Regions from separate parts of the Homo sapiens genome. Here regions 1, 2, 4, 5 and 6 are each linked to region 3. Evidence: promoter capture Hi-C in 16 types of primary human blood cells and fetal thymus (Javierre and others, 2016). All regions are on one chromosome and are shown on one strand. Each heading gives the region's core, a stretch centred on a gene start or on the middle of the fragment in contact. The rest is flanking DNA. Distances are from core to core; before and after follow the strand shown. Region 1 holds the start of PSMD6-AS1 (PSMD6 antisense RNA 1). Region 2 overlaps EOGT (EGF domain specific O-linked N-acetylglucosamine transferase). Region 3 holds the start of KBTBD8 (kelch repeat and BTB domain containing 8). Region 4 overlaps TMF1 (TATA element modulatory factor 1). Region 5 holds the start of TMF1 (TATA element modulatory factor 1). Region 6 overlaps UBA3 (ubiquitin like modifier activating enzyme 3).

Region 1 (4,383 bases), core at 84-2,583, 3.0 Mb after region 3:
AACATTCGTATCCTGTTGCCTCTGCCTTCCTCATGTCATGTCTGCCCCTTGCATTAACAGATGGGAAGATGAGTTGTAGTGAGGCTAAGTGATTTGTTAAAGGTCATTAGACCAGTTGTTATCAAAAGTTGTCTTCTGTTACTTCTTTGTAGACCACACTGCAGCTACGGTAATGACTCTTAGATCTGATATTTACAGTTGGTCATATTCCCTCTGATAATTCCTTCCAGTTTTTAGGTTGCTGCTGCAATTCTGGTCAGATTGGTTGTTAAATGTGGGACTTTTAGTACTTGCATCAGTGATTAAACAAATAAATACTTAATGAGCCATTCATTACTATATGTTTGGTATTGTTTTACAGCTCCCTTTTCACACTTTCATTGTAGTAGTAGGGAAGAGATGGCAAGGAAGCAAATAAATATAAAACGTAATTTCACATATAGAAATGAACCTATGGAGATGAGAAAATGCTATCCTTACGTACGGCATGCTTAAGGAGGTGAGGTTTGCTCTGAGATTTGAATTGAGAGGAGTCAGCCATATGGAGTCCTTCTGCGTGCAGAAAAGGGAATAGAAAAGGCTAAGGCTTTGAGCCAGGAATAAGCTTGGATGTTGTAGGAACAGAAAATGTCAGGGTGGCTCCAGCATAGTTGGAGTGGTAGGAGATTTTGAGGATAATATATGGAGAGTTAGGTAGGTAATGATTTGTGTAGGGCCTTGTAGGTCATGGGATGGAGCTTGAGTTTTAAGTAAGTTTGATAGGGAGCCATTGGAAGATTTAGAGCCCAAGTTACATGGTCCTATGCAGTGTCTTTATATAAGAAATAGAGTAAGGTGGCAGAGAGGACCAGTTGTGCTGTTTAGTAGCTCTTAGAGGAGATGTTACCGTGGCGTGGACGAGGGTGGTGAGAGTAGAGTTGGGTAGGAGACATACTCAATATGGGATGTCCAGATGGCATCTAGATCAGTGGCTCCCACATGTAGGTGTTTTTAAATGTTGATGATGGTGTTTTCAATGGTCTGCAGTGGAAACTTTAAATGAAGATGCATTTCTTTTAAATAAGACCATTCTCTTTCTAGTATTTTTTAAATTTCGAACATCCATAAAATTGTAAAGAAAGAATTGTACAGTACATTTTAACATATTTGCTTGTTACAATCTATACATTTTATGTTTTTTAACCACTTCAAAGTAAGTTTCAGACACCAACACATTTTTTAAATGATCCCTACCATTTTTTAAATGATCCCTACCAAAATGGAAGGCTGGTATCCCAAGGTTTTGTTCCATTTCTCAATTCTAGTCTGTGAAATTGAAGTCTGATGACCACTCTTAAGAGGGCTGTTCATTAGGGTGCGGGCTGGGCATTATGAGTGTGTTTTTCATGAGTCAGTGGAAGGAGGGGCTTGTTGTGAGCAGTGCATGAGAAAAACGGCTTGGCTTTGCTTCTTTTTCCAGCTCTGTGGCCTTGGTCAGGTTACGTCTCTTCAGTATCGTAACTGTAATGTGGAGATAAAGCCTTCATTAGTTAGGGGCACACACCGCAGTATTCCTTAAGTCATCTTGATGACAAGTGAATGCAAGGCAGCTGGTACCTTTCAGGTAGTAGTTGAATTCAGGTAGTATTTGTTCAGTTTTTTTTTTTTCCCTTCATGTTCTAAGACCAGCTTGAGAGGCAAAGGTTGTACCACTGAGCTCTAGTTGTTGTTACCTAAAAAGGCCTTGTTTTAAATTTCTGTGATACCTAAGAATTTCAAATCTGGGTTGTCATGGATTCTTTATTCTTTTTTTCTCCCTTAAAAAGTTACATTTTAGATGAAATCCCCTTTTTTAAAATGGGCAAAGCAATAATTCTACATCATTTCTCCCCTTCCCTTCCACTTGTTTAGACTAAGATATGTTAGAGAGGGAAAGGGTCGTTGTTTTAGTAAATACTATTGCTGTTGACATGTTAATACTATTGCTGTTGACATGTTTACTGATGGGCTGTGTTCCATAATTTTGTTTTAGGTCTTTTGTTTGAAACAGTTTACTGTTTTTATCAGTTTTGGTCCCTAATTTTTCCTAACCTACAGTTTTTCTCTGAGTACATATGGTTTCATTGTTTGATCTACTTTCTATCTATCTGAATATGAACTTCTAGGATCATGTTTATTCTAGTAGATGATGACTTAAAGCCTGCAGTATAGGAGGGACAACGTCAACTACTGCATGTGCAATAACAAGCTTGAAGGGAAGCTAAATGTTTGTTACAAATTTAAGACAGTATTTTAATGCCGTTTGCATTTTTCTAAGAATTTTCTATAAAGCTAATTCTGTTATTTTTTGTCTCTAAATTAGGGAACTGTCCAGGTTTATTGCTGCCGGGAGACTACACTGCAAAATAGATAAAGTGAATGAAATAGTAGAAACCAACAGGTACTCTCATTTCTCAGAATAAGGGGCATTCCTAAATTTTAAAAGTAGGTCAACTATTGTCATGGAATAATGTGACTGGTAAATAATTCATTTTTTCTTGAATTTATTTATAGACCTGATAGCAAGAACTGGCAGTACCAAGAAACTATCAAGAAAGGAGATCTGCTACTAAACAGAGTTCAAAAACTTTCCAGAGTAATTAATATGTAAAGCCATGTAACTAACAAAGGATTTGCTTTAGAGATAATTATTTGGAATTTTTATAGCTTACTTCACAATGTGCCCAGGTCAGCTGTATAAAATAAATACTGCATTGTTGTTTCTTTCCATTTATTTTTTTCTTAAACACATAGGCCTTCTAGAATCGGGTCCACTTATGTTAAAATAATGTCACTTGAATTATTCATTAATGAAAATCTGGTTTATAGGGTAAGGTTGCAGCTGGGTTCAGCTAGGTTCAGCTCCTGACTGCCTCATCAGTAAAATACGTCAGTAAAATACGGATGTTGACACAGCCCATTATCGCTTACCTTTAAATCTCTTACCTGTAAGCTTCCCGATTTTAGAAAGAAGAGTAGTGGCCTAAAATTAAACAAACAGTGTCTCCCACTTTTAGTATACAAAAGATAGAAGATAAAGAAAATGTGTAATAAGCTTTCCCTCAGAAACAAGTAACCATATAAGGCAGGAAGTTACTCTTTTTTAGGAAGCTGACATAACCTGGATTACAGAATCTACCAAGGCTGATCTCAGTTTTCTAAAACCTTATATGTAAGTATTTATTAGCAAACTGAATCTTTTTTCCAAAAGTAGGACCATAGTAATAATAGCAGTGAGGAAAACAAAGTTGTTCCTCTGTTTGTTTGAAACAGTTTATTAGTTTTATCAGTTTTATTCAGTGTGTCAGATAGGAATAAGTGCTATAAGAAGTATAAAACCAGATAGACAGACAGATAGATAGATAGATAGATAGAGATACAGGGTATAGGCCGTCTTCTGAGGTGTTGTGGAAGGCTTCTATGGTAAGGTGACATTTAAGTGAAAAGGAGGGAGAGCCCATGAACGTATGGAGGGAAGAAAGACGAGGAAAGTCACTGGCAATTTTAAGTGCGGATTTGGCTTACCTTTTACGTCTCACTTACGGCATTCGGTGGCATGGATTGTACAGGCAGCTGGATTTGCTAAAAGATTGAAGAATGGGGTGAGGAGGATGAGGGGGAGAAAATTTGTCAGAGGAGATCCTAGGCTTTTTGGCTTAAGTGAAAGACAGCTAGTGACCTTAATGAGCAGTTTTGGTAGAGGTGAGTTCAGAAGAGAATGGGAAATGGCATTTTACTGTAAAAGGCAAGGGAAGGAAAGAAGAGTTTTGAGTTTTTTTGCTTTAAATAACATTTACTGATGGGAATGATTCCTGTTAACATATTAGGAATAACATATTCCTAATATGGAATTCCTAACAGGAATAACATACTCCTGTTAACATGATCTCATTTGATTGAAAATAATTTGATATAATTCAACATTTCTTCATGATAAAAAAACTCTTCAGTAGACTATGAATAATAGGTTGGGATATCAAAGCCCTATCACAAGGTAATTAATGGCAAAATATTAGAAGCATTATCTTAAAAGTGAAGACAGCAGCTCTCATCGCTGGAAGAAGAGCCATTGGTTGTATGCCAAGGAAAGCAATGTGGCTAGATCTCTGTTTTGAAAGGAGTTTCCTGTAGGCACTGTATTGTGGAGGGGAGGCTTTTAAAATGCTGACTATGCCTAATGTATTTGAGAATATCCACCTATGAATTTCTAAAAATGCTTATCTAGAAAACATTTCTTAAAGGAAAAAAACCTCAGCTTTTTGGTTTTCTACAGAAAACCAAAGCTAGTCAGGAATGCAAAGGTGGCTTCTGAATGCTACAGAGTTGCAGTTGTTCACCCACAGGCGGCAATTGACACACCCTAAA
Region 2 (4,162 bases), core at 1,145-3,644, 2.0 Mb before region 3:
ATAGGTGTGAGCCACCAAGCCTTGCTGAAGGGGTATATCTTGAATTTGTTTTTGATGATATGGCAGAGGGGTTGGGGAATGGGTGGGGGGATGGATGACTCAGACAGGCCATGAGTTAATCGCATTGCAAAGTTGGGTTGTGGATACATTAGGGTCCTGATAGGATTCTGTTACTTTCATATACACTTGAAATTTTCTATTGTAAATAGTTAAATTCTTTTAAAAAATTCAGTTTGGAAATTGGTAATCCACTTTAGTTACAACCCACGTGCTTGGGTCATGAAGACGTTTTCTGAACTTAACTTAATGTTTTGTTATATACCAGATTTAAGGAGGACTTTTTCCAGAGTGGTGAAATTGGAGGGCACTGTAAACTTGACATCCGTACATTGACGTCTGAAGGTCAGCGCAAAAGCCCTCTGCAGTCATGGTAAGATATTTTTAACGTATCTGTTTCGGAAATATTTGCCTTTATTTACGGCACTTGCAGATATTAATGGAGACTCTCAAATGGAAAATGTTACTTCATTTGTACATAATTTGGCATGAGCTTCTGGGAAGTGACGGAAACCGAGTGAATCCCTCAGTTGCATCTGAATTAAGTATGTGTTTATAATAGTAGATACAGTACTTACTGTTTGCTAATGAAAGAAAAAAATCAGCTTAAAAATCCATTTTTATTAACTCACAATTGCCAAGTTTTATTCACTTACAAAGTCACATAGGTTACTTACATAATGTTAATTTTTGAGGTCAAACGTCCATGCCAAGGCCAGGAATGGTGGCTCATGCCTATAATCTCAGCACTTTGGAAGGCCAAGGTAGAAGTATTACTTGAGCCCAGGAGTTCAAGGCCAGCCTGGGCAATATGATGAGACCTCAAATCTAAAAAATAAAAATGTGTTTTGGGGAACCCATTTAAAAAACAATACACATATATTAAAGTATGTAAAAGCATACAGAAAAAGGTACAGTTTGGATTGTGAAAAAGTGAACCCACCCATGTAACTTTTACCCAGGTCCAAAAATAGAACATTGTCAGCACCTCAGTCTCCCTCCCAGGCTCTACCCCCATCCCCCTCTCCAAAGGTAGATGCTACTCTGACTGTTAACATCATTGGCCAGCTTTTTGAATTTAAAAAGTTTGTATTTTAAAATAATTTTAGACTCATAGAAGTTTAAAAATAGTATGTATTATACCCAAGACTGACTAACTTACAAAGGAAAGAGGTTTAATGGACTCATGGTTCCTCATGGCTGGGGAGGCCTCACAATCATGGTAGAAGGCAAAGGAGGAACAAAGGCACGTCTTACATGACAGCAGACAAGAGAGCGTGTGCAGAGGGAACTGCCCTTTATAAAACTATCAGATCTTGAGAACAGCGCAGGAAAAACCCACCCCCATGATTCAGTTACCTCCCACCGGGTGCCTCCCATGATGGGAGCTACAATTCAAGATGAGATCTGGGTGGAGACACAGCCAAACCATATCATACTACAAGGAGAACTTGTACGTTGTCTAATTCCCTGAGCTTCCTCTAATGATAATATCTCATATAACCATGGCACAATGATCACAACCATGAAATTGACATTGGTACAGTAGTATTAACTTGTGCAGGTTTTACCAGCAATTACCTGTACTCATTAAAATTTTATCACTTGTGTAGGTGCGGGTATGTAGGTAGGGAGAGAGAGGGGGAGGAGGACGGGGAGGGCGACCACCACAATCAGGATGCAGAATTGTTCCATCATCCCAAAGAAACTCTCCTGCTACTCCTGTATAGTCACATAGGTTACTTACATAATGTTAATTTGTAAGGTCAAATGTCCATACCAAGGCCAGGAATGGCGGCTCATGCCTATAATCACAGCACTTTGGGAGGCCAAGGCAGAAGTATTACTTGAAGCCAGGAGTTCAAGACCAGCCTGAGCAACATGATGAGACCTCATCTCTAAAAAAGAAAAATAAAAAATAAAAATAAATTAGCTGGGCGAGATGGCATGCCCCTGTAATCCTAGCTACTTGGGAGGCTGAGGCGGGAGGACTGCTTGAGCTCAGGAGGTCGAGGCTGCAGTGAGCTATGATTGCACCACTGCACTCCAGCCTGGGCGATGGATCAAGACCCTGTCTCAAAAAAAAAAAGAAATTCATGCTGAGCAAACCTTTTTTTTTTTTGTCCTTAAAGAGGCCTCACTGCCTGGCTGCAGATCATTCAGAATAATGATCTACCACACATTTATCTGGGATTTTGCAGTCTGCAATGCAATGTCTCAAGTCACTTAGCAGACTTTTACAAGAGGTAGTTTCTATATTCAAGTGGGCTTTTTGATTCCTGGTACTTTCTGATATTTGATTCCACATGGTAGTTGCTCAGGGCATAATTGTATTAGTTGCTTATTGCTGTGTGACAGGCTATTCCAAAGTGTACCCTAGGGTATATTTATATTTATTACCTATTGTTGTATAACAAATGACTCTAAAATTTAGCAGCTTAAAATACAAACATTTATTATCTCACAGTACTTCTGAGGGTCAGGGTTTGGGAGCAGCTTGGCTGAGTTGGCCAGGGCTGTAGCCATCTCTAGACTCAACCTGGGCCTGGAGAATCTGCTGCTAAACTCACTCAGGTTGTTGTAAGCCTCGGCTCCTTTTGGCACCATCTCGGCTCACTGCAACCTCTGCCTCCCAGGTTCAAGCGATTCTCCTGCTTCGGGCTCCTGAAAATGGCTGGGACTAAAGGCGCTCGCCACTACGCCCAGCTAATTTTTGTATTTTTAGTAGAGATGGGGTTTCACCGTGTTGACCAGGATGGTCTTGATCTCCTGACCTCGTGATCTGACTGCCTCTGCCTCCCAAAGTGCTGGGATTACAGGTTTGAGCCACTGCACCCGGTCTGTTCCTTGTCTTAACATTAAAATTGATATCAACCTATATAAAAGTCAGTAAGTTTTAGAAGTTACAGGTGTCCATAGGAGTGTCTGTACCATTTAGAGGTAAAATCTGCCTAATGAACAGATCCTAAGTTACAGTGTTCTAATAGGAAGTTTGGGAGAATCAGTTTGAAGTCATGTCCCAATTCATAATTTCAGGTTTGCTGAGCTACAAAGCTATACTCAGCTCAACTTCAGACCTATAGAAGATGCTAAATGTGACATTGTCATTGAAAAACCAACATATTTCATGAAATTAGATGCAGGTGAGAAATAACTTTTTCTGTTATTTGTGTATTTGTTAATGAGATATTATTCCTTTTTTTGGATGTAGTAATTCTCTCTGAATTTTTTGGAAGCAGTATGACAAACAGTAGATTTGTTTTTTTTGCTTTCTTCTCTGAAGAAGTAGTTGAACTAATTTGAACTTCCCATTATTTTATAACTTGGGCATTTTAGAAGAAACTTTCACATTTATATCAAAGGACTTAACCAAAATCAAAGGACGAGAGGTGAAGGCATATTTATGCCTTTTGTAACTAAATTTACCTCATCTGGTTTCTCTAATCACTTGGTTTAGATTGTCTTTCATTAAGATGTTTAAAATCAAAAGCTAAGCCGGGCGCGGTGGCTCACACCTGTAATCCCAGCACTGTGGGAGGCCGAGGCAGGCAGATCACGAGGTCAGGAGATCGAGACCATCCTGGCCAACATGGTGAAACCTCGTCTCTACTAAAAAAACACAAAAAATTAGCTGGGCGTGGTGGCAGGCACCTATAGTCCCAGCTACTCGGGAGGTTGAAGCGGGGGAATCGCTTGAACCCAGGAGGCAGAGGTTGCAGTGAGCCAAGATCGTGCCGCTGCACTCCAGCCTGGTGACAGAGCAAGACTCCGTCTTAAAAAAAAAAAAAAAAAATCAAAAGCCATGTGTATAGTATGGGTGGGAAAGAAGTGTCCATGACCTGCGCTGACAAACTTTCTGTATCATTTCCATGACTAAAGTGAACTTAAAATTCTTCTGGAAGTTACCAGTGTAATTTATTCTTGACATAAAATTAAAATTATTTTATCATTTATACTTATAGCCTCTTTCTCAGCTTGCAAGCAGAGCTTTAACTTTGCGAACTAGTTACACTGGGGAGGAGAAACACAGATTGTACTATATTATCTCTTTCATTATGAGAGACAGGGATTACTGTGCTAGATCATATCAAAATTCATGAGAGGT
Region 3 (4,530 bases), core at 1,061-3,560:
GTAATCAAATGTAGCCTCTGCCATTTACTTGTTGGATAGATGATTTAGGCAGGTTATTAAAACTCAATCTCACTGAGCCTCAGCTTCTTCATAAGTAAAATGGAACAACAACTATGCAGAGATAGGATTATAAAGATTATATAAGGCAATACATGTAAAGTAAGCTTAGCCTAGAGCTTGATAAGTAGTAACTGTGACATATATTTAAACATACAAATGACCTAACCATATCTAATAGATAATCTGGGTAAGTGAATCTCACTAGAAGTTTCCATTACCAGGCCAAACTTCATACCTTCTGCATATGTGAGTTTTTTTTTCTTTCCAGCTCACTGTCTTGCGATGATTAATACTTAGTAGTCCAATGACCTACCCTAGGCAAGTCTAAACGGTTACATCACAAGCATCAGACTGAAGTGACTATATTTAACCCAGTATTCTGAGAAAGAGGAACCAGAAACTACTGTTGGAACATTATATGGTTATGTGCCCTATAAAGGTAAGCACCTTCAAAAGGAAAAATCACATTCAGAGTGTGGTTGATAACTTTACTATTATTTATGCACCACTTGTGAATACTGAAAGGCTTAAAGTGAGCATTTGACACAAAAGAAGTTAAGCCCATGCAGAAAACTGCCTTTTCCACTCATCTTAAAGTAGGAAGTTATTTTTCAGACCCAAGTTTTTAAATTTTACTTTTAAAAGTTTTATAGTAGACAATATAAGTAAAAACAAAAACTTCGTTTAACATACTTCTAGAAATCTTGGATATTATTAATTTGGGGCCTTAGGCACAAAGAAACTATATTCATTCTTGCTTTGACCCCCATAGCATTTAAACAATCTATTGAGTGGTAATTTGTTTTTGAAGGAACATGCTACATGTTTTAAACTATTTTATAAAAGAGTCCCATACACTAAAGAAACATGCATTATGGATAACTTTTTGAAAGAAATTCTAGATCAGCACTGTCCAATAAAATTGTCAATGATGAAAATGCTGTATTTCTGTGCTGCCCAATATGGCAGCCACTAGCTGCAGGTGACCAGCAAGCACTCAAAAAGTATTTAGTGTACCTGGGGAACTAAATGTTTTATTTTATTTAACTTATAATTTAAGTTTAAACAGCCACACATGGCTACTGGCTTCCATACTGACCAGCACAAGTCTAGATTTTCTGGTCATTTACCTCAAACACACACACACAGGCCCACTAACTTAAAAAGCAATCACCCGAAATCTAGAAGAATCCCTCAAGTCAAAAGAAGGTCTTAGTTAAGAGAGGACTTGTTTTCTAGTCTCAAGAAACAAAGTCATTGGTTTCATTTCATTATCGCATCTCAATATAAACATCAAGTGGACAATACTGAGGGGGAAAGGGAGCTTGGTGCAGATACCAACAGAAGTTCCTACCATCATCATACCTGAAGTAAGGGCTGATTGCAGCAAGAACGTTTCTATGACAGGAAAATGTTTTCCCGTGATCCACTTCCACTACAATGTCTGTCAACTGTCCTTCATCGTACATTGTTTTGAGTTGCTTAAGAATACTGCAAGCATGGAAGGGGTCCATGGCATCGCTGGCTGGGTCTGAAGATGGAATCCCATTCGGTGTTGGGGAAGACTTACTTAAATCTAGGAGGAGAAAAATCGTACAACTACAAGAAGTGCCGAGCCAGTTACGGCATCGCGGGATTTTTCTGTTTGTGTGTCTGCTTGCTAGGCTTTTTCCCCCTACAAGATATATACAAATGTCTGTGGATATACGCACGACCTCGTGGGACCGCGAGTTAAGGATCTGGGAGACAGAGGGCGGAGCGCGATCGGCGGAACAAGTTCAAAGGCCAGCCTGCTCCTGCGGAGCCCGGCGAGCCCGGCACCCGTGCTCGCGGAGGAAACGCGCTCGCAGCCCAGGAGAGGCGTCTGCGCGGACTCCGCCGAGAGCCGAGGGCAGAGCCTCACGAGGGAAGCTCGAACAACGGCGGCCGCCGGTGCCCCCTCAAGCCGCCTCCCGCTGCCTCCTGGGGCGCAGCGCCGGCGGGTACCCAGCCTCCCCATCCCGGTCCCGCCGGACCGCCCACCGCCCTCCGCACCATTCATCCTCCCTCTTCTCATTCCCCTCCACCGCTTCATCCTTCCCTCTAGCTCCGCACCGCTACGTCCTCATCCCACTGCCTGTGGCCGGCCCCGGCCCACCTTCCCCCTCACCTCCCTCCACGCCGCCCTGGCCACCACACGACCCACCTGCCGACGCGGCCATTTCTCGATGGGGCCCCGACTCCAGCTATTTAAAAAGGAAATGTCATTTCGCTTCTCTAGCTCCCGGGTTCCGGCTCTTCTAAGCTTCCCCTGGCCAATGGGGTGTCCTGTGCATCTGGCTCCACCCCTAGCCTCCGAATTCCTGGCGCTGATTGGCCACGACGCGAGCACATGCGTGTCGGGAAATGTAGTTTGATTGCCCCGGCTCCCGCGTGGTCCGGGTCGGGCGGAGGCCCAAGCCGGGAATTCCTATTGGCTGATTCGGATGGAGGTGGAGAGCAGGGAGCTGGCCAGCCTGTGGCCGTCGAGCGCGCAGTGCCTGCCGGGAGAGGTAGTCTTCTGGCGGAGGAGAACTGTCATTCTGAGGGGCTGGGGTAGGGAAAGCTCTTCAAGTGCGAATTTCCCCATTTTAGGCCTCTCTCCTGGCCCCCGGCACATTTTTTTACCTTTTTCTTCTTCCGTAAACTTCCTGCCAGTGACTAGCTTCCGGTATGAAATCAAGCTCTGCGTGAGAGCTGTAAAACCAGAAAAATGTGGAAATGGACAGGAGGGCTGTTGTCCAAAAATGCAAAGGAAATCTGACGTCCCACCCTGAAGAAAAATATCACAAGGCCCAAAAGCAAGGCGTCTCTGATGAGTCACCTATGACACCCAATTGAAATAGCATCGCCTTGGCCGGGTGCTCTGGTTTCCACAGATTAACTTGGTCTGGTTACAGCGGCTGCTTAGGATCTTCAACTCCCACTGGTGCCTTGCTTTTCTAGCACACCCAGAGAACACCTGTTCCTCACGTGAACATTACAAGGGGATCCAAGATGCTTTACTTTTTGCTCTTGGGAAATGGAGGGGATACAATACTAAGTATTCCGGAATTTCCTTTGAAAAAATACCGGAATGCCCTGAGCCCGGAGCCAGGGATGATTACTGAAGCCCTGGCTCTTTAGTCACTATATGTGAGAACTGACATAAGACCTTTCAACCCCTGAGCGCTTAGATCCTTCATCTGTAACGTGAAGTAATAGTAATCCGTACTCCATGGATTTCATAGGCTGCAACCTTTTGGAAAGAAAATCAAAATTTTACTGTTGACGAATTTTTATTTACTCATCTTGTGTTTCTAACATCTAACGGGGTGCCTGGCACATTATAGATGTTTCATATTTTAAAAATAAATGTAAGGTGCAAATGAGCTAACATTGGGAATGCTATTTCTAGATGTTAAAATGTAAGGAAGTATCAGCGAATGGGAAGAATTTCTAGTAGACATATAGTTAGCCCGTGTGCATAACTTTTCTAGCACTGAAAAGATCAAACCGTTGAACTTCTTGATAAAGAAAGGATCTTGGAATTTAAATTGTGATTGAGAAAGAGAAATAATTATGAAAAACAATTCAGTTCTGTCTTCTAGGTCTGCTGAGAAATTTAGAACTTAAAATACTATAATCCCATGCAAGTTAACAGGAAGTGGTGTTTCCTCATGACTGGGGTTTCTGCATATACATATGCACTTATAATTTCTTCTTTGTGAATGTCCTGTATGCACGTTTCTGGATAGATGAAATTGACTTAATTTTGGTTACTCATAACTTTATTTTTTCGTTTTTATGATGTTGCTTTCTAATTTATTAAAATGGTAGCACTTTATGACAATATGGTTAGTATTGAGGAAAAAAATGGCGTTAATCCTTAGGGTTTGACAACATCTGACGATATTGCAAATAAAAATACAGGGCATGCATTATTTGAGAAATATTTAAACTGAAATATCATTTGTTGTTTATCTGAAATTTAAATTTAATTGGGTGTTCTGTATTTTATCTGGCAACCTTTTCAAATCTGTTAAAATAGAGGAGTTTTGTTTGTGCTTTGTTGTTGTTTTGTAGCCATCTATCTATTTAAGCCTTAAGAAACTTGGCCAATTTTTTAAAAATTCAATTCTCAACTTAGTAACAAACAGACTTGACAATATTGTTTGATTAGTGAGAAGACAGTGTTCTGATTCTTTGACCCACAAAGATTTATAAATTGGAGATGCAGCAGAATACAAAGAACAAAAGCCAATCTAAAAATAAATAGAAAAAAAATTATAGGTAAAAAGTTGCCATTTATATGACACTGTAAATGGACTCCATTCTACTGGGCAGATGGCATTACATAGTAAAGATTTAATCATCACTAAAATGCATTTTTAAAAAACACAGAATATGTAGGAGGATCTCGAAATTCAGTCAGTTGTACCACAACAATTCTTTCTCAATGATCTGTAAGAA
Region 4 (3,981 bases), core at 95-2,594, 2.0 Mb before region 3:
TCAGTTAACTTGTGAAAATTGAATTCCCATCAAACTGAATGTAAGCATTTAATATCTAAACATTTAATGTGGACTTCCAATAAATTCTTTTATAGAATTAGAAAGTGGGATTTACTGTAGAGTGTAAAAATTTTTTTAAAATTGTTTTACACTATGTAGTAATATTTACAGTTAAATTATTTTGTGCAATATTTGAACTTTATTTTTGAAACTATTCTTTAAAGATTTATTTTTTAAAGCATTCATTTTTTTTCCTTGAATAGCACAGAGATTTATTACTTTATCCTCATATAAATATGGCTAGAGAAGAAGAATGGTGTTCATATATGTATTGTAGATATACAACTAGTTGTATCTATAATTTGTAAGTGTTTATATATATATTAAGAACATTTGAAGAGTAATGTTAACATACTGAAACTTTGAAATCTTTCACATTTAAAATTTCAACATATCTTAATTACTGCTCATGAAAATGTACATTAAGTGTTAAAGTAAAAAATTATTAAATCTGTGGCTATTAAATTTTAAACTAATTTTTTTCCTTTAAAAGTAAGAGTCACACTGACACTGTCTGAAATTTAAAGAGTGAATGATTTAAACTTAAAAAAAATTTTGATCTGAAAATTTATTTCACCCAGCTTTCACAATTAAGTCTGTATAAAATGTGGTACCTTTTGGTACCTATCCAGAGAAACCTGTACATATTCAATGTTATCTAGATGTGATTGGATAATGGAGAAAATTTATTTATAATGATTTTGCAATGGCATCAATAACATTTAAATGATTTTGAAGAAGTATTATTTTACTACCCTATAAAATGAATCGAAAATAATAAAGTTCTTAACATAATTTACTCTTTAAAAATTACCTGTTCATATTTTGTAAACCCATATTTTTAGCACATTAAAAATGAATGTTTGATATTACAGAATATTCATAACAAAATGGAAGAATTATAGGAATTAACTTGAATTTGGCATTTTTAATTTTGTGATTTATCATTTTATTTTTTCTTGAAATTTCAAACACAAGGAAAGCATAGAATAGCTTTTAAAAGTAGCTATGCCTTCTTCCAAATGTTATTTTATTCAAAAAGGTAACCAGGTTGTGTTTTAAACCTGTGAAATATTGTGATGCATTTTATTACTGAAAGTTATTTAACTGCCTTTACTTGCACATAAAAACTCTCATTTACGGCCAGGTGCTGTGGCTCATGCCTGTAATCCCAGCACTTTGGGAGGCCAAGGCGGGCATATCACCTGATGTCAGGAGTTCAAGACCAGCATGGCCAGCAGTTTGGTGAAACCCCATCTCTACTAAAAATACAAAAATTAGCCTGGCGTGGTGGTGTGCGCCTGTAATCCTAGCTACTCGGGAGGCTGAGGCAGGAGCATTGCTTGAACCTGGGAGGTGGAGGTTACAATGAGCCAAGATTGTGCCACTGCACTCCAGCATGGGTGACAGAGAAAGACTCCGTCTCAAAAAAAAAAAAACAAACTCTTATTTAATTTTTAGTTAAAATTAAAACACTAGTACTTCAGAATATAGATACAAGTACACCATCTTGAAGAATTTGGAGTTTTTCAGGGCAATTCAAATGACCTCATTTTTTGTTCTTTTTGTATTCCAGACAGTGTTTCTGTCATTGGATCTCTGATTGGTAGTGTTAATAAATATTCTTTCAGTGTGAGCCAGATTCATAAAATTAATTTTCTTCATTTTAGTAGTAAAAAGTAGTCTAATAGCTTTTTGTCAGCTTGATTTTTTTGTGTGTGTAATATTCAAGGGCAGAATGACAGGACAGATAAGCAATAAGAAATGTATAGAATTAGAAAATATAGTAGTTCCCTCTTACCCATGGGACATACGTTCCAAGACCCCCAGTGAACGTCTGAAACCATGGATAGTATAGACACCTCTATACACTGTTTTTTCCTATACATATATACCTATGATAAAGTTCTATTTATAAATCAGGGACAGCAAGAGATAAACAATAACTGCAAATAGAACAATTATAACAGTGCACTGTAATAAAAGTGATGTAAATGTGATATGTCTGTCTCTTTCTCTCAAAATATCTTATTGTACTGTACTCACCTGTAATCAGACTGTGGTTGACCGTGAGTAACCGAAACCACAGAAAGCAAAATCGTGGATAAGGGGAGACTACTCTATATGAAACTTAAGTTACAAAATTCTCTGAAGCATTTGAAACTAGACGTTTTGGAATTATAAAATAGTCCCTTTAAAATATCCACTAGTAGAAAAAAACTTCATTTGCAGAGAAAAGATTGCAATAAAACTCATTCCTAAACTTTTCAATTTTATAAAATTAAACATTCTTTTTTTATCCGTATTAACAATTTCTAGTTACATAGTTTCTAGTTACATATTACCATATATTACTCTTTATCTACAAATAAATAGCTGATACTCAAACTGATCATATTTTGATTGTTAAACACTTGGATCTCTCAATACTTCTGTAAGTTAAAGTGAACTTAAACAGTTTCTTGAAAAACTCCAGTAGGTGGCAGAATACCTATTGAATATTCGTTGCTATACTTTGCTGTTTGTCATTAAAACATCTCTACCCATATTCTTGCAAAATAATATTTATATTTTAATGGATAGGAAAATGATTTGCAATTAGATGTTTCCATTCTTGAAAGAAAAAAGCTGCAAATAACATTTTCAAGAATATAAAAAAATGAGTAAACAAAGGGAAGGTTGTTTGGTCATTTATAGACAATTAAGCACAGACTGTAGATGTCCTTCCAATTCTTGGGAGGCTAAACTGAGTCTACCATTTCTTACATTTCTTTTACCTATTTTTTGAGAATTGCCAGTTGTACAGTGTTTAGCATGTGGAATGTACCAAATATATCTATGTTGTGACTTAAGATATTCTAAATGTGGATAACTTCTGACCTAGGAAACATGAAGTTTGTAGTGAAGTAAGTGAAAAGAATGTTCAGGAAATTTTTTTTCTCCATCTCTTCAGTTGGCATTTATTGAGAGTTTTATTTGAATGCTTATTAAAAGTATATGATTTATAATATTTAGAAAATAGAAGAAAAAAGAAAACTGTAGATGTTTTATCTTGTTTTAATACTGTATGTTTAGTACGTATACATTTATGTTCTAGTGTATCAAAATTTTTCATTTTCATTAAAGTGAATCCAATTTTCCATATTCTAGGTCCATTTTAAACCATGAAAACTTTAATCACATATTTTGTAAAGGGCTGAAAGTATGATTTAAACTACAGATTGATATATTTTAATTCTAAATGAAAGGTAATGTAAATAAGCATGGATCTGATTGAATAAAGATTTTAAAATAGTAATAGTGTATTTCATTTTTAACAAAATTTATAGTGGTCAATAGTAATGAGTGAAGAATGAATATTGTTTTATGAAAATATAACTTGTTTACATTTGAGATTAATATTTTAAGAAAATGAAGCCCTAATTTTCTATAAGTTACATTATTAGTATTAAGTGTAGTTTTTTTTTTTTTTTTTGACAGAGTCTCACTCTGTTGCCTGGGCTGGAGTGCAGTGGTGTGATCTCAGCTTACTGCAGCCTCTGCCTCCCAGGTTCAAGTGATCCTCCTGCCTTAGCCTCCCAAGTAGCTGGGATTACAGGTGCGCACCAGCACATCCGGCTAATTTTTGTATTTTTAGTAGAGATGGGTTTCACCATGTTGGCCAGGCTGGTTTCGAACTCAAGTGACCTGCCCACCTTGGCCTCCCAAAGTGCTGGGATTATAGGCATAAGCCACTGCGCCCGGCCCTAAGTTCATTATCTTCTAATGAAGATATGTTTTCGGAAAACACAGTGCTAAGAATTTACTTATAACTAGCTGGTAACTACTGTAAGGATAGTTTGTGTCAGTTTTTAATCTTAAGCAATATCAAGACATTCTTCTAAAAGTCTTATGTTTCTGTATTCAAGTAATAACAACAGT
Region 5 (4,073 bases), core at 1,181-3,680, 2.1 Mb before region 3:
GCACTATTTATTAATAAAATCATATATTGTGTACTTCTTTCACTGAAGTTTTTAAAAGTACATTAAGGGTAATCAGTAGTTCCATGGTAATATAGGAATAATTTTTAAATGTGTAGCAGAGTTATATCAAATTTTTATTGCACTTAATACTTTTGCTACAGCAATTTCTATAGTAAAAATTTACTGGTTTAATTTAACTTTCTGTATCAATATAATTTTTTTTTTTTTTTTTTTTGCGACAGAGTTTCGCTCTTGTTGCCCAGGCTGGAGTGCGATGATGCAACCTCAGCTCACTGCAACCTCTGCCTCCCCGGTTCAGGCAATTCTCCTGCCTCAGCCTCCGGAGTAACTGGGATTACAGGCGCCTGCCACCATGCACGGCTAATTTTTTGTATTTTTAGTAGGGACGGGGTTTCACCACGTTGGCCAGGCTGGTCTCAAACTCCTGACCTCAGGTGATCCACCCCCCCCCGCCCCCCTCGGCTTCCCAAAGTGCTGGGATTACAGGCATGAGCCACCATGCCTGACCATGTTTTTGTTTCTTTTAAGTGAATAAAACTTCAAACAAAATTAAGTACAAATACTAAAAAAGTAGGTGCTAGTATTTTAATATGAGAACATGTATGTGTTCTCATTCTTTGTTTTTGACTTAGATATGGCAGTTTTCTGTTCAAATGTTTTTTGGTTACTTATGTGTCACTGAGTTAAGTTTTCAGTAATCTTTCTAGCTACATATTGACAAATAAGTTTTATTATAAAACCATACGGAATAAATTTATAAGCTCTACCTGAAAAGTTACAGGTGTAGCTTACAATTTTGAAAGTGAAGGAACTAAAATTTAGCACCATATAGGTGCTATAATAATTCTCAAAGTAGCATTGTAAGAAGGTGACTCTATCTGAGAGCTGAATAAATAGTTTTAGATGGTTTAGGTAGGTCATTTCACCAAAGCTGTACAATTAGAAGTCTTGGAACTGTAACTGTACAGCTAATTTCAACCCGAATCTGCCCCAAATCTCCTCTGCAGACTACTTAGCTGTTTGAAAGTACTTGAGTTACTTGGTACTACTTGTGTACATGACTAAATTGTTAGTTTTAACATGCAAGTTTTTACTGTAGTTAGATAAAATTATTGGAAGATGATTATAACTTCTTAAGGGGTTCAATCTGATTTTTTAAAAGAAAAATAATTCTTTTTTGCAGAGTTCCTTGCAGTGGGGTAAAATATTCAAATATGGGAGGCAGGCATATAAGGTAAATAATCACAGCAGGGAGGGTGTAATAGGATGAGTGATAGGGGTCTGTGGCAAACTGGAGTGAGTGAAAATTATTTGGTGACCACTCTGGCTGACTATTCCCATGCTTGGTATTCATATTTTTCAAAAGCAGCTGGAAATCTAGATTTTTGAATGAAATCTGGCTTTTAGTTAGGATTTTGTCTTTAACTTGGGCCCAAACCAAATATAGCTGCAGACTGGATTAGGAAGGCCACCAATTTAAGGTATTTTCCCATGTCCAAATGTTCGAAGAGAATGCACACAGAAAAGGTTATGTTTTAAGTAATATGCACAGTGCACATTGTTAGGATAACAGCTTTAGTGCTTCCTAGGTGTCTTAGTCCATTTGGACTGCTGTAACAAATTGCCATAAACTGGGTGGCTTATAAGCAGTAGCAATTTGTTTCTTAACAGTTCTAGAGGCTGAGAAGTCCAAGATAAGGAGCCGGCAGATTTGGTGTCTGGTGAGGGCTGCTATTCTGGCTTAGAGTTGGTGCCTTCTTGCCGTGAGCTCCCTTGGGCCTCTCTTATAAGGGCACTAACCCCATTTATGAGGGCTCCATCATCATCTAATCATCTCCTAAAGGCTCCCCTTAATACTGTCCCATTGGAGATTAGGTTTCAACATAGGAATTTGTGCAGGGGACACCGACAGACCACAGTATTAGGGGTATTTTGACTGCAGCAATGAGTTTACTACTATTTTGAGAGAGAGGTTGTGCTTTATGCACCATGTGTTCCACGAGTTGGACACAGTGTTCATACGTGATCCTGTCTTTTAGGCAAGCCCAAACAAGTGTTTCTCCTTACAATACCAAGTTAATACAGAGCTTATTAAATATTTGAGACAAAGGGCTAAGAGAAGTGTGAGGCCCAATTTCCCTTTGCAATTATTGCTGGCAAGGTGCAAGCTTTTAGCACGTGAACTATTTTCCTGGAAAGCACACACACGAAAACTTGAATATTCCTTCCGGGGAAATCGACCTCTATCGGTAGCCATAGCTTCCCCTTCGCTAAGAACTGCTGTAAGCACGAAATCGACATCAATAGAAACCCTTCCGCGTTCCTCGGTAACTAACGGCAACCCTGCGCTCCCGGATGTGACGTCAACGTTCTTCTGTTCTTCCGTCTGTCGACCGAACTCTGGGCTCGTAGATTTGGTTGCTGTGTACGTGGAAGAAGCAAGCGCATGCGCACATGGGCCCCCTTCGTCTCAGCTGTGCGGGAACGGCCGAGGGTAACATCCCGGGCTCGCGGGAGGCTGTCGGGGTAATGGCCACACGCTGACAGAACCAGCCGAGTGGAAAAGGGGAGCGAAGCCGTTCCTCTGCACCCTTCCCCAGGCCTGAGGCCTTCCCGCTTGGTGCTGCCGCCGCCACTGCCGGCTGAGGAGGGGCGATGAGTTGGTTCAACGCCTCCCAGCTCTCCAGCTTCGCTAAGCAGGCCCTGTCCCAGGCCCAGAAGTCTATTGACAGGGTTCTGGACATCCAGGAAGAGGAGCCGAGCATCTGGGCCGAGACCATTCCGTATGGAGAGCCGGGTAAGAGAGAGAGGAGCGGGGTTCCTGGCTCCCGGAGGCTGCTGTTCTCTTGATGCAGGCAGGTTAAGTGGTGTAGAGAGGGGTCCTTCCTTGCTGAGAGAGTTTTCAGGAAGTAATTTCTCCCCGGCCCGTTCCCTAATGCTGCTTCAGCCTCCAAGTCGGTCTTTGCTGTTTTCCTGAGGGAAAACCCAGATCCAGGTTCCCCCTTGTCTTTCTTTGGTCCTGGGTGCGAGGCTTGTGGACTTGGATGACAGGGGACTTGGTTGGTTGGTCTTGCCCTCAAGCTCTCCCTCGACGCAGCTTCCAAGCACAACCTTCCCGAACCTGAACCTCGAATTGCTTCGCGTCTCGGGCACTGTTGGGATCCAAGGTCTGAAGTACGTAAATCATCAGGGAAGGGAAGAACAATCGCTAACAGTCAGTGAACATTTCGCGCTTGGTAGCGCGTAATGTGGTTTTATGTTGTTGTTGAGACGGAGTCTCACTCCGTCGCCCAGGCTGGAGTGCAGTGGCGCGATCTCGGCTCACTGCAACCTCCGCCTCCCAGGTTCTAGCGATTCTCCTTCCCCAGCCTCCCTAGTAGCTGGGATTACAGGCGCCCACCACCACGCCCGGCAACTTTTTGTATTTTTAGTAGGGACGGGGTTTCACTATGTTGGCCAGGCTGGTGGAACTCCTGACTTAAGGCGATCCACCCACCTCGGCCTCCTAAAGTGCTGGGATTACAGGCACGAGCCTGTAATGTGCTTTTTTATGGCCTTCTCATCTTCAGAACAACTCCCAGAGAGAGCTTGGTTTATATCCGTGTTTTACATAAGAGGAAAATGAGGCCCAGAATGGCCAAGTAACTTGCTCTAGGTCACACGGCGGAGGAGGATTAGAATGTGCCGGAGGTATTAGCCGGAAAATGTGTGACCCAAGATTTCTGGATGGTATCACATTTTATTTCTGAATAGCCAAGTCTCTCTTTGCAGTTTCATTGAGCTTAATCTTTCAGGGATCTTCATTCAGTTGCTTTTGACTCTTAAGTCTAAGGAACAGTTCAGCATTTGATGTGTGGGGTAAAGATTTGCTGGTGTTGGGGGATGTGAACCTTTGTGTGAAAAAGGATAAGAGATGTACTTGACTACTCCTTTCTGGTTTCTGTTCTTAATTTTACATCATTGAAAAGTCAGGACCTAAATTTGAGGTACCTCAGTTTAAGATATTTTGGTCCATGTGTGTATGTGATGATCCTCTTTACTTTTTACAAGAT
Region 6 (4,529 bases), core at 1,771-4,270, 2.1 Mb before region 3:
TACAGCCTACCCATGTGTGTGTTTTTATAATATATGTCTTATAATAGTTACCATTTCTGAATTGTGGCATGCTTAATATTAAGTAAACTAAAATAAAGCTTGTAGAATTGCTTTTAACAATATTTTGAAAAAATAATAGCAAGCATAGTAAAATTAAAGTATCCATCAATAGCAGCAAAGCAACAAATTTTACAAATGTGTTTATGGAATTATATATATATGTAAAATAGTTTCAATCCGTAGAAATTTTGAGTTGTTCTCTTTTGGTTATAGATTATTTGAAACTGAGTGATTGTACACTTTTGACCTGTTCAAGAACTCTGAATTTTATATACCTTGCAAGAGTCTTTCAGCCATTGAATACAAATTACACAGAATTTATTACTGAGAATTTGTAGACTTAAGACTACATTGAAAACAAATGTTACGTTTTTAAATGTGAGGAAACTTCTGCTTAATTGGATTGTTTTTATTCCCACAGGCCTTGTCTGGTTTTAGACAGATTCATGTTATAGATATGGACACTATAGATGTTTCCAATCTAAATAGGCAGTTTTTATTTAGGTAAGTTTTAATATCTTAGCGGTTTTCTTTTTTTAAGCTCTGATAATCATTTGAACTTGTACATTGCAGTTTAATAATTTTTAAAAATGACTTGAGAGGATAATACTAATTTTATTTTAAAAAACAAAAACTACCATTCCCATTGTAGGTAAAGTTTTGTAAGAAAATTTTGGGCATCTTGGTGATAGTAGTTATGTAAACAAATACATGTTTTTGTTTTTTCGAAGAAGTCTCCTTCCAAAGGTTTATGTGATTTTTGGGAATATCCTCAGGTTAACTGTGCTCTGAAGAAAGGAAAGAACGGTAGCTCTTCCTCCAGTTGATGTCAGAAGAGAATACTCGCTGGAGTATTAGGCCCTAGTGAGAGATTGGCAGGGATTTGTGAGCCAAGGTTTGAATGGTGACTGGAGCAATAAAGTTGGGAAAGAGTTTGAGCTTTTCCTACAAGGGGAAAGAAAATGGAAAGTCGAGGAGAGAAAAACCAGAACCAATTGGAATGGAACAAAGAGGGATGGTTACCTTAGGCATATATGGAATATAGAGAACATCAAGGAGTGATTTGTTAAAGATGAGTTTAAGAAGAGAAGTAGAGGCCAGGCATGGTGGCTTACACCTGTAATCCCAACACTGGGAGGCTGAGGTGAGAAGATTGCTTGAGCCCAGGAGATCCAGACCAGCCTGGGCAACAAAGGGAGATTTCGTCTCTACAAAAAAATTAAAAAATTAGCCGGGTGTGCACCTGTGGTCCCTGCTGCATGGGAAGCTGAGGTAGGAGGATCGTTTGAGCTCAGGATCTGGAGGCTGCAGTGAACTGTGTTCATGCCACTGTACTCCAGCCTGGGCAACAGAGCGAGACCCTGTCTCAAAAACAAAAACAAAACAACCCAAAAAACAAAAACTGAAGTAGACCATGTATCCAGACATGAAGAAATGTTCATTCATGAATTTAGTATGTAATATTGAGGGGTTTGAGTAGTTTAGGTAAAAGTGTATATTTGTTAGTCAAAGATACACAGAGATAAGGACTTTTTTTTTCTCTCTCTATTTAGGAAGTTTGCATCTGTTACTGACAGTGCTCAAATTGTTCTGGGTATATAGGATAAAGTTGAGCTAGCAAAAAAGGTAACATTAAGTTTTTGGATAGGCATAAAACCTCTACATTATCTTTGTGGAAGATCTTAATGGGACTGAAGTATGGATTAAAATAAGTTAATGAAGTGTTGTAATTGCAGTGTGACCCTTAATGTTTAACTTTTAAGCTTTATTTTTTGTTTATTTTTTAACCTTTGAAATTTCCCTTCTCTATAGCAAAGTTTGTGGGCTCTGTCCAGCTTGTCAAATTTTGAGTTGTGAATTCTCTGAAAAAGATACCACTGAATTGATTTGTTATTGATACAGGCCATACCCTTTAATTTGTGGCTAAAATGGTTGAAGATGGTAATAACGATATGTAGCAAGTACTTCTAAACTATCCATATTATTCCATTTAATCTCAGCAACCTCAGGGTAGGTTCTTGTGTTCAAGGTTAAATAATTTGGGCAGAGTGTCCTGCAAGGATGATGTGTGTGAAAGGCCATTTTATTGAGGTGGAGCAATCTGATTGTTTCATCCTGGAATGGTAAATTAACAAACAGTTCCCAGAAACCATCTAGGAGTTCTTTTGTTTGGGCCGTGCCATAAAAGCACATAGAATATATTACTTAAAATAATCTTAGAAGTCTACTTTATCCCTTTTACAAACCAAAAGAGCTTTCTGTGTGTGGAGCCATTGAATGCAATACTGAAATTAAGTTCTTTGATTTATAACAGGGCCTTTTTTATGTAAGTTAGTACAAAGTGAAGATAAAACATTTACCAAAAGTTTTGAATCAAAAAAGAACAGTGCTTTATTGGAGAGAAAAAAAATTGGCCTGGCATGGTGGCTCATGCCTGTAATCACAGCACATTGGGAGGCTAAGGTGGGCGGATCACTTGAGGTCAGAAGTTCGAGACCAGCCCGGCCAACACGGTGAAACCCTGTGTCTACTAAAAATACAAAAATTAGCCAGGCGTAGTGACTCATGCCCGTAGTCCCAGCACTCTGGAGGCTGAGACAGGAGAATTGTTTGAATCTGGGAGGCAGAGGTTATAGTGAGCCGAGATTGTGCCACTGCACTCCAGCGTGGGTGACAGAGCGAGACTCTGTCTCAAACAAACAAAAAAAAAGAAAAGAAAAATTGACATGCTAAAGTGTTTTTCTTTGAAATTTCAGATTTTTTTCTAATAAGCACACGATTTATTATTTTCATTTATTTTAAAAGTATTTACTGTGTGCTAGGTAGGAAGGAATATGAAGAGAGTAAGAACATGGTCACTTTCATCCAAATAATAGTCTAGTGGGTATGATAGACGTGTATGTAGCAAATATGTTACGAAAAAAGTAATAATGTTCTTATTATATACATGGAGTGATTTCTCTGAGGAGAATATGGAAATATTAGGAAAGAAAATACCATTTGTATAGAACTTAGAGGAGGAAATTCATATCCTTTCCTATCTATATGTGTGGTTATTGTTTTAAGAGTGACCTTTTGAGGCCTTATATATTCAGCTTCTGTGATGTAATAGTAACATTTGCAATTTTAGCTGACACTTTTGGTATTATTCTTTCTTTAAAAACTTGGTGCCGGGCATGGTGGCTCATGCCTGTAATCCCAGCATTTTGGGAGGCTGAGGCGGGCAGATCACCTGAGGTCAGGAGTTCGAGACCAGCCTGACCAACATGGCAAAACTAAAAATACAAAAACTAGCTGGTTGTGGTGGCAGGCACCTGTAATCTCACCTCCCTAGAGACTGAGGCATGAGAATTGCTTGAACCTGGGAGGCGGAGGTTGCAGTGAGCCGAGATCGCACCACTGCACTCCAGCCTGGGTGACAGAGTGAGTGAGACTCCGTCTCAAAAAGAAAAAAGAAAAAAACGTGGTTACAGCCTCTTTTTTTTTTTTTTTTCCATTTTATATACGGTCCAGTGAAATTTTTTTTTTCTTTTTTTTTCTTTTTCATGCAGCTTCTTAGGGGACACAAAATTTGCTGCTTAATCAGCACACACAGGAAGAAGGGGTTAAATGAAGGTTCTTGCATCCCAAGGATGAATCTTATTGTGTATATTTCAGCCAAGACCTGTGGAGTAACACCATAAGGTTCTGAGCTCTAAGAGTGGGATAATTTTTTACAGTGGAAAGTGGCCAGGAATCATAGCATTATTATGCTTTATCTGGGAGGAAGAACACTGTTCAGATTTTCTCTTAATTAAAGCAATACTTAATTAGACTTATGTTAATTTGGACCATTAGCAAGGGTTGACATTTAAGGTTAAATGACCGTTTACCAAAAGTTATTACTGAAATCAAAATACTTAGGCAAAAATATTCCTTCTAAATTTCCTATAAGTAAACTTACTGTGAATTTACTTTTATGTTTGAAAATAAGTTATGTAGATCATATAGATTTATAATATGAATTATAATTTAAATATTTTTCCTGTAGGCCTAAAGATATTGGAAGACCTAAGGCTGAAGTTGCTGCAGAATTTCTAAATGACAGAGTTCCTAATTGCAATGTAGTTCCGTATCCTTTTGACAAAAAGAAAATTACTTAATTTTTAAAAGCTTTTTTCCTTTATTATAAGAGATATTTAACAGAGAATACAGATAAGCAAGAGGGAAAAAAAGTCAGCAGTAGTAACTTTATTACTGAGATAACTGCTGGTAACATTTTGCTATCTATTCTTCCAGTCTTTTCTGTATGGTTATATAAATATTTTTTGGGCCCTGATTTTTAACTTAAGTTTATAAAGCCTGTTTCATCATCTACTTTATTTTGCATTATTGCCCTTAATTTCAGTATCAATTACATATCTCCTTTACTAGAGTGTAAATTCCTAGGCTGGATCCAATTAATCTTTGTTTCTTTATAGTAGCAGACA

Evidence for each region. The method cuts DNA at HindIII sites, captures the fragments that hold promoters and counts their contacts. A CHiCAGO score of 5 or more calls a contact.
Region 1: a contact is called between the fragment with the promoter of PSMD6-AS1 here and the fragment with the promoter of KBTBD8 in region 3, in 6 of 17 cell types (erythroblasts, activated CD4 T cells, total CD4 T cells and 3 more). The highest score is 13.5, in erythroblasts.
Region 2: a fragment that was not itself captured here is called in contact with the fragment with the promoter of KBTBD8 in region 3 in 8 of 17 cell types (M1 macrophages, M0 macrophages, M2 macrophages and 5 more); the score reaches 16.9 in M1 macrophages.
Region 4: a fragment that was not itself captured here is called in contact with the fragment with the promoter of KBTBD8 in region 3 in 9 of 17 cell types (erythroblasts, naive CD8 T cells, M2 macrophages and 6 more); the score reaches 9.1 in erythroblasts.
Region 5: the fragment with the promoter of TMF1 here is called in contact with the fragment with the promoter of KBTBD8 in region 3 in 13 of 17 cell types (naive CD4 T cells, total B cells, total CD8 T cells and 10 more); the score reaches 32.1 in naive CD4 T cells.
Region 6: a fragment that was not itself captured here is called in contact with the fragment with the promoter of KBTBD8 in region 3 in 5 of 17 cell types (total B cells, naive B cells, naive CD8 T cells and 2 more); the score reaches 13.0 in total B cells.

The regions. Positions count from the first base shown.
Region 1 is chr3:64,008,914-64,013,296 of GRCh38, reverse strand. PSMD6-AS1 (PSMD6 antisense RNA 1) reads right to left here and starts at 1,333. Exons shown (of 2, transcript NR_189168.1): 1 at 1,255-1,333. It overlaps PSMD6 (proteasome 26S subunit, non-ATPase 6), which reads left to right. Exons shown (of 8, transcript NM_014814.3): 7 at 2,342-2,419; 8 at 2,533-2,746. The coding sequence ends at 2,629. PSMD6-AS2 (PSMD6 antisense RNA 2) reads right to left here. Exons shown (of 3, transcript NR_038286.1): 2 at 3,544-3,600; 3 at 1,054-1,500. The HindIII fragment of the contact is 1,623 bases long and covers 607-2,229 here.
Region 2 is chr3:69,000,646-69,004,807 of GRCh38, reverse strand. It overlaps EOGT (EGF domain specific O-linked N-acetylglucosamine transferase), which reads left to right. Exons shown (of 18, transcript NM_001278689.2): 8 at 326-430; 9 at 3,094-3,200. Among named protein-coding and RNA genes, the nearest start is that of EOGT-DT, 10 kb to the left of the region's middle. The HindIII fragment of the contact is 6,572 bases long and covers 1-4,162 here.
Region 3 is chr3:66,996,087-67,000,616 of GRCh38, reverse strand. KBTBD8 (kelch repeat and BTB domain containing 8) reads right to left here and starts at 2,310. Exons shown (of 4, transcript NM_032505.3): 1 at 2,246-2,310; 2 at 1,426-1,636. The coding sequence starts at 2,261. RefSeq lists enhancers at 490-589, 2,553-2,652 and a silencer at 1,893-2,212. The HindIII fragment of the contact is 2,180 bases long and covers 167-2,346 here.
Region 4 is chr3:69,019,204-69,023,184 of GRCh38, reverse strand. It overlaps TMF1 (TATA element modulatory factor 1), which reads left to right. Exons shown (of 17, transcript NM_007114.3): 17 at 1-3,358. The coding sequence ends at 8. Among named protein-coding and RNA genes, the nearest start is that of EOGT, 7.5 kb to the right of the region's middle. The HindIII fragment of the contact is 9,838 bases long and covers 1-3,981 here.
Region 5 is chr3:69,050,690-69,054,762 of GRCh38, reverse strand. TMF1 (TATA element modulatory factor 1) reads left to right here and starts at 2,430. Exons shown (of 17, transcript NM_007114.3): 1 at 2,430-2,818. The coding sequence starts at 2,677. It overlaps UBA3 (ubiquitin like modifier activating enzyme 3), which reads left to right. Exons shown (of 18, transcript NM_003968.4): 18 at 1-33. RefSeq lists an enhancer at 2,369-2,838. The HindIII fragment of the contact is 2,649 bases long and covers 2,192-4,073 here.
Region 6 is chr3:69,067,570-69,072,098 of GRCh38, reverse strand. UBA3 (ubiquitin like modifier activating enzyme 3) reads left to right here. Exons shown (of 18, transcript NM_003968.4): 5 at 482-564; 6 at 4,091-4,171. Among named protein-coding and RNA genes, the nearest start is that of UBA3, 11 kb to the left of the region's middle. The HindIII fragment of the contact is 2,389 bases long and covers 1,826-4,214 here.